Regions from separate parts of the Homo sapiens genome. Here region 2 is linked to region 1. Evidence: promoter capture Hi-C in human tissues and cell types (Jung and others, 2019). All regions are on one chromosome and are shown on one strand. The core of a region is centred on a gene start or on the middle of the fragment in contact, and the rest is flanking DNA. Distances in the headings are between cores, read along the strand shown. Region 1 holds the start of CD8B (CD8 subunit beta). Region 2 has its middle 35 kb from the start of CD8A.

What was found. The method cuts DNA at HindIII sites, captures the fragments that hold promoters and counts their contacts. A contact is called where the count stands out against the background at its distance.
Region 2: a fragment that was not itself captured here is called in contact with the fragment with the promoter of CD8B in region 1 in 1 of the 25 tissues and cell types used here (psoas muscle).

Annotation. Positions count from the first base shown.
Region 1 is chr2:86,860,201-86,863,840 of GRCh38, reverse strand. CD8B (CD8 subunit beta) reads left to right here and starts at 1,955. Exons shown (of 6, transcript NM_004931.5): 1 at 1,955-2,018. The coding sequence starts at 1,976. It also overlaps the pseudogene ANAPC1P1. The HindIII fragment of the contact is 19,466 bases long and covers 1-3,640 here.
Region 2 is chr2:86,824,209-86,827,685 of GRCh38, reverse strand. It overlaps a transcript of CD8B not described here. Among named protein-coding and RNA genes, the nearest start is that of CD8A, 35 kb to the right of the region's middle. The HindIII fragment of the contact is 8,744 bases long and covers 1-3,477 here.

The sequences.
Region 1 (3,640 bases), core at 706-3,205:
GATTTGTATTGAGTTAAACCACTAATATTTAGAGGTTAATTTATCACAGACGCAAGAGTTTCCATAACTAATGCATCCAGGGGTTCCCTGTCTATGATTTTAGACAATACCTGACAAAGCAGTGAGTAACTTTTAATCATTTACTGAGAAAGTTGTTCCTTTTGCAATGCTGTGGCGCCCATGAGAGAGTGGATAGAAAGAGGTAGCTTGTGTTTTCTAAACAACAAATACTTTGAATACACATACAAAGAAGAAATACAAATGGCCAACAAGCACATGAATTGATGCTTAACATCATTTCTCATTCAGGAAGTACAAATCCAAACCACAATGAGATATCACTTCACACCCACTAGGATGGAACAAAACAAAAACAGAAAATAACAAGTGTTGGCGATGATGTGGGGAAATTGGAACCCTTTCATTGTTGGCAGAAATGTAAATGGTCACAGCTGCTATGGAAATCAGTTGGTTAGTCCCTCAAAAAGTTAAACATAGAATTATTGTATGACCCAGCAATTGCACTGCCTGAGTACATACCTGAAAGAATTGAAAACAGGCACCCAAACATATATTTGTACAAGAATGTTCACAGTAGCATTACTCACAAAAGTCAAAAAGTAGATATAGTAGCCCACTCAAATGTCCATCATTAGATGAACAGATAAAGAAAATGTGGTATATACAGGTACATACACAAAATATTACTCAACAATAAGAAGAAATGGTGCTATAATGGGGATGAACCTGAAAAACATTGCGCTGAGTCAAAGAAGCCATTCGCTAAAGACCACACATTGTATGGGAGCCAAGGCAGTATCCAGCGAGACTCTGGCCTCTGGCTGGGCTGAGTGACTTCTTTTCCCCCAGTGCCTTTGAACTCTCTGCACCCAACTCAGCCATGAGCAATGCTGTCACCAGCAATGGGCAGAGGGGCTGGGGCAAGAGTGGGATGGAAAGAATACTGGATGTGGAGACCAAATGTGACAGTGTCCTTGCCCGGCTGCCTGCTTTAGATCTCAGGGGACACGCCATTTCCTCTCCGATAAACTCTAAGCTCTTAGGGTAACCCATGGACCTGCCTGGCTGGGTCTTTGTTGACATTTACAAGGAGCCTCTCCCGCAGCCCTCCAAGGGGTCCCTCTCCCCTGCAGGCTGCATGCCCAGTTCTCCCTGGACCTCCCCAACCCCCTCTCTACTAACCCCCGTTTGAACAGGAAGACACAGCCTGAGCCAGGTCTCCCCTCACAAATCTCCCCACCAGGGCTGGATCGCGCAACAAATAGAGCCAGCCCCAGGGCACTCGCCGGCAGGGCGCAGCCGGTGATCGTCACAGTCCTTCGAAATTCTTAAGATCTAGGTCTTGCTGCACCCCCACAACCTACAAACAGCGTCGGGGCCTTCTCTGCACCTCCAGTTCCCAGCTCACCTCCCTCAGTGTCACAGCCGGTTACCTTTCCTTCCTCCCTGGCAAGGGAGGGCAAGACTTGGGGCTTGCTGACTCCAGGCCCAGCCCAGCCCGGGGCACCCAGGAGCCCCTCAATTGCTACTCAAACAAGACAAGAAGCGGCCCGAGTTAGTGGCCAGCTCCACCATGCACTACACATCCTGACCTCTCTGAGCCTCTACTGTCACTCGGGGTCACAACCCTTTCCTGAGCACCTCCCGGGGCAGGGGGCGATGACACACATGCAGCTGCCTGGGGGAGGCCGGCGGTGTCCCCTCCTTTCTGGAAAGCGGAGGGTCCTGGTGGGCTCTGGAAACGCAGCCCAGACCTTTGCAATGCTAGGAGGATGAGGGCGGAGACCTCGCGGTCCCCAACACCAGACTCCCGCCGCCACCGCGCCCGGTCCCGCCCTCCCCACTGCCCCCCCAGCTCCCCGACCCAGGCGCCCCGCCCGGCCAGCTCCTCACCCACCCCAGCCGCGACTGTCTCCGCCGAGCCCCCGGGGCCAGGTGTCCCGGGCGCGCCACGATGCGGCCGCGGCTGTGGCTCCTCTTGGCCGCGCAGCTGACAGGTAAGGCGGCGGCGCGCGGGCTACCCAAGGGTCTGCGCTCCCGGGGCCTGAGCGGGGAGGTGATAAGTGGCTGTCCTGGCCCTGGTCCTGGCAGGGTGCAGCGTCGAGCCCGCGGTGGCGGGGCGCCCGGGAGGCAGCTTGGCAGGCACGGTCCCTAAGGGTGGAAATAAAATACCCCCATATCGCATTACCCCGGGGGACCGGAGAGCCCCTGGACTGAGGCCACCTCCCCTCAAAAGCCTGGACGCAGGAGAAGGGGAGGCAGTGAAAAGGGGAGCGAGTGAGGGAAGGAAAGAGAGGGTCGCTGGAGGTCACCAGGGGAAGGAAACAGGTCCCTGCCCAGGGTCCCCGCAGGATGTGCTCGGAGGAAGGTTGGCCAGGCCATGGGTCCTGTGGACACATTTTTATTACTTCCGGGGAAGTGTTTGTAGTACAATCAGACAAACATCGGGCGTTCTCAGTTCTCGGAGGGCTAGGGCAGGGTGATCCCTCTGGCTCCCGTTCTCCCTGATGTCGCTGGTGTTGGGTGTCATGGGTAGCGTGGCTCCCTAGGAAGCAGCCTGGAGGTTGGGTTGTTGGAGTTGGATGGGGCATCTGGATTGTCCTTCTGAATAAGCCCAGCCAGACTGCCTTTTGGAAGAAGCCTCCACACACCCGGAAAACTACCCAAACTGGTCGATTTGCTCTCGTGCCCAAAAAGCCCAAAGCTGGTCATCTTGCCAGGGGGTGACAAGGCCTGCCCGCCGGGGGTTCTGGCCCAGTGAGTGCAACATCATAAATAGAAACAGCCCAGGCCGTTCAGAGCACTAAAGTCATTACTGATGGATCTAGAAACATCAGGTCCCTCTGAGAATGGAATTCCTGGGTTACCGAGGGGAACATGCAGTGAGGCCTGGCTCCATGTCCAGCACACAGCAGGGCCTTGGCCACAGCCCGGAGTATTCAGTTCCTAGGGGACAAAAAGCAAGTGGGCCCCGGGAAGAGCCGGGGTGTGTCTCAGCCAGGAGAGGAAATGCACACTCACAGCCCAGGCCTTGCTCTTACAGGAGTCGCTTCTGGGTTTTCCCGGAAGGGCTTCGGGCACCTGTGTACTTGCAGCCCCACTGTGTGCTCGTGAGCACATAACCACCATCAGGGAGAGGATTGCAGGTTTCTTCAATTCAGTGGTTCAAAGTCAGGTTTTGGGGTCCCACAAGCTGGGTTTTAATCTGGATCACTGTGTGACCTTGAGCACATCTTTAACCCTCCTGAGTCTCTCTTTCCTCATGGGTAAAGTAGGTGCAAAACAGTATCTCCCCCACAGGATTTGGTGAGGATCAAATGAGATAATGTATGCGCCATGCCAGGCACAGCTCAATAAACTGGCATTATTGGTTCTTATTAACTCCCCCAAGAAGTGAGTGACCCAAAGCAAGGAAAAACCTCTGCTCTGCTGGAACCGCAGTGTGGTGTTTGGGGAAACAAGAGGAAGTCCAGCAGCCACTTGTGCCCCAGGCATCATTTCCTTCTTGTTTTTATTTTTATTTTTATTTTTTAATAATTTTTTCTTTTCCAAGATGGAGTCTTGCTCTGTCGCCCAGGCTGGAGTGCAGTGGCGCAATCTTGGCTCACTGCAATCTCCG
Region 2 (3,477 bases), core at 58-2,557, 36 kb after region 1:
GTGAACACCCTTTACAGCAACCCTGCCCCATATTTGTCTACCCCACATTTTTTTTTTTTTTTTTGAGATAGGGTCTTGCTCTGTGACCCAGGCTGGAGTGCAGTGGTGCCCTCTCGGCTCACTGCAATCTCTGCCTCCTGGGCTCCAGTGATCTTCCCACTTAGCTCGTGAGTAGCTGGGACCACAGGCACATGCCACCATGCCTGGCTAATTTTTTTAACTTTTGTGGAGATGGGGTTTCACCATGTTGGCCAGGCTGGTCTCAATCTGGGCTCAAGCAATCCACCCACCTCAGTCTACCAATGTGTTGGGATTACAGGCATTAGCCACCACACCAGGCCCCCAGCCCACATTTAACTACCTCTCGTGACATAAAACCCGAACTCTCAGGGCAAGCCAATTCATGTTTAACTCTACCAGAAGGTTTTTTTTTTTTTAACTCAAAAGAAGTCCTTGCAAGCTTCCAAGAATCACTCATAAACAAGTCTACTCAGTGGCTTACACTTGAGCACAGTCTTAGCTGATGAACCAAGATGAACTCTTTGCTGCCACAAAATCCACAGTCAGCCAGGCACAGTGGCTCATGCCTGTAATCCTCACACTCTGGGAGGCCGAGGCGAGTGGATCACCTGAGGTCAGGAGTTGGAGACCAGCCTGGCCAACATGGTGAAACCCTCTCTCTACTAAAAATACAAAAATTGCTGGGTGTGGTGGCAGGTGCCTATAATTCCAGCTACTCAGGAGACTGAAGCAGGAGAATCGCTTGAACCCGAGAGGCAGAGGTTGCAGTGAGCCGAGATCATGCCACTGCACTCCAGCCTGGGTGACAGAGTGAGACCCCGTCTCAAAAAAAAAAAAAAACAAGAAATTCACAGTCATGTCTACATGTGTGAACCACAGCCAATTCCAGTGCCCACTGTAATTCCACCCCTTTCGATCCTGCTAAGGAAGCCTCCCACAGTGTACTTGGGCGAGAGCGACACTGTCGTCTACAGGAATAACCTTGAACCTGTTCTACTTCTTAAAAATGAAGTGAACATTTTTAGTAGCCACGCTTCACACCCAGCAGCGGCACAGTAAGGTATCTATACAGGCAGGATTAAGATGGTCGTTAGGGTTCTTTCCAAGTGACAGGGCTCAGGTGATGCACCCAAGTCCATGGCCACCCTTCCTGGGTCACCGCCTCTCCCATAGGTCTTTTGTTCTCCTGGCCCCAAACCTCCACTGCTTTCTACATTGTCAGAATCGATTGGTGGTTCCTGTTTCCTTCTCACTTACCGACCTGCACATGTCACAGATTCTCAGCATATTCCATTTGCAAGAAAGCCACTGTTTTAGAGTGGCTCTCTGTTTTGTTTTGATTGTTGAGAGGAGCTCGTGGGCATTATTGCTGCATCACCCGCCACACAACTGGGGAGGTGTCACCGGCTAAACAAAAGGCAGGGGTGACGGCTCCTCACCCCTGTGGCCCAGATGGACTCCTCTGACAACCGGGGCAGAGCTAGGAAGACAATACAGACTCTCATGTTGCCTGCACAGAGCTCCCCACAAGACCACACTTCCTCCCGGGCTTTGAAGGGTACATCAATATAAGACAAATGATACGTTCTAAAAAACCGCCTGCAAACACGGGCACCTGAGCCTGCTTGGTCTGCAAATGTTTCAAGGCTCAGGGAGGCTGTCATGGATGTTTTCCCCCCGAGAGCTCCAGTGGCGGAGGTCTGCACATTCAGGTAGGAGCTCCTGTTCATGTCCGAATGGCACCCCTGTCTCCTCCTGGTGCTCTTTGGGGCAGCTGACACCATGTTGAGCATGCAGCCTGTTACAGTCAGGTAGGACAATAAAGAGTGGAGTGGCGGGCAGGAGGTGAGGCATGGGCAGTGGCCCTTTCTGAGGGGCTCCCATGCCCCCCTTAGAGCCTGCTGTTCAGACTTGGAGGTGGCAGCGAAGAACGGGTCCCAACACTTATCTTTGCTCATGTTGCCGCTGCATGCAGTTTCTGTTGGCTTCTTCGGAGAGGTGTCTAGTGCAGTTATCACCCATAGGAGCCTGAGCTGGCTGGAGCTCTGGGACATTCACCTGGCTCAGTCTTTTCCCACCTGAGAGGTGCCTGGGTGCTGCCTGCCAGGGCAGCCGTTGTCTGATTCCATCGTGATCACAGCAACCGCAAGCCAGCCACAAGCCTCTGTCTTTGTGTGCCTGGGGTTTACTGCGACCCTTGGGGATTCAAATGGGGTCAGATTGAAATGAGCAAAGAATCCTCTGAAGCCTGGACTCTTTCCCAAGGAAGTCAAAGGGAATGGCCAAGGAGGGGTTGGGGGATCCTGGAGGACGGTGATCCTCACCCTCCACTCCCACAGCCCCCATAGCCCCCCAGTAGGGGGGAGTCAGACAGAGCTGCCGCCATCCCTGGGACCACCTGCACACCTGCCCCTTTTATGTGGGGACGTTATGTAGGGCGGCCCCTCTCCAACCCCAGCAGCACACCCCCCACACCGACACCCAAGCTGCGTGGGACAGAACCAACAAGTTCACTTACCAAGGCAGATGCACCCATCACCCCTGCTCTTTTCCCAGCCTCCTCATGTGCCAGAGCTGCCTTAGGAGCTGTGGAGGAAACTCCAGGGCCCATATAAATTGCTTAGAGCTTTGGAACCCACGCAAGAGATCCATCCTCAGGAAATACTAATCTGTGCCATCATCATTATTTATTGGCATTAGTTATGTGTTCTAGAAATAACAATAGAACAACCTAAGTGGTTGACTATAAAGAGGAGTTTCAATAAGCTGTGGTCATTTACTTGGTATACAAGTATTCAAACCTTAAAAACGGTGGTTCTAAAGATTCTGGAAGCGATTCAGGGAAGGTTTATGCAATGAAGTAAAGGAAAAGCAGGATGTAGCACTGTGTTTATAGTAAGCAAGGTCGAGACAAGGCCTTGGGACAGAAGCACAAGAAAGCATCCCTGAGTGTGCTCTGGAGGGACTAGAACCTTCTTTCCACCTCTGATGGTGAGCTCTCCTCCCCTTCCCTCCACCACAAGGCCTCCCTCTCTCTTCCCTGACCCAGGGCACTGATGAAAAGCCCCCTCCCCACAGGACCCCAGGAAGGGAATGGGTTGCAGGTTTGTGCAGGGGGAGGCTTTTTCTCTTTTCATCTGCTCATTCATTCAATCACAGATTTACTCTTCATTCCCTTAGCTGCTCTTTGGCCTGGAGCACGTGGCTTCTTGCCCTTTGGCCTCCTAAAAATTAGAGGTAACAATTGCTTTCCTGTTGCATGTCCAGCACAACAGACATTGCACACACAGCCACCCAGCCCTGCACAAAGATGCAGAACAAAATGGGGGTTTCGGGCTGATTTGGCCACTTCCAGCTGTGTGCAAAGCAGCATTGATCTGAGCCTCAGCCTTGCTATCTGAGAAATGAAGCACCTCACAGTACCTGGCCCAGAAGGTCACATAGGTAAAAGTGTGG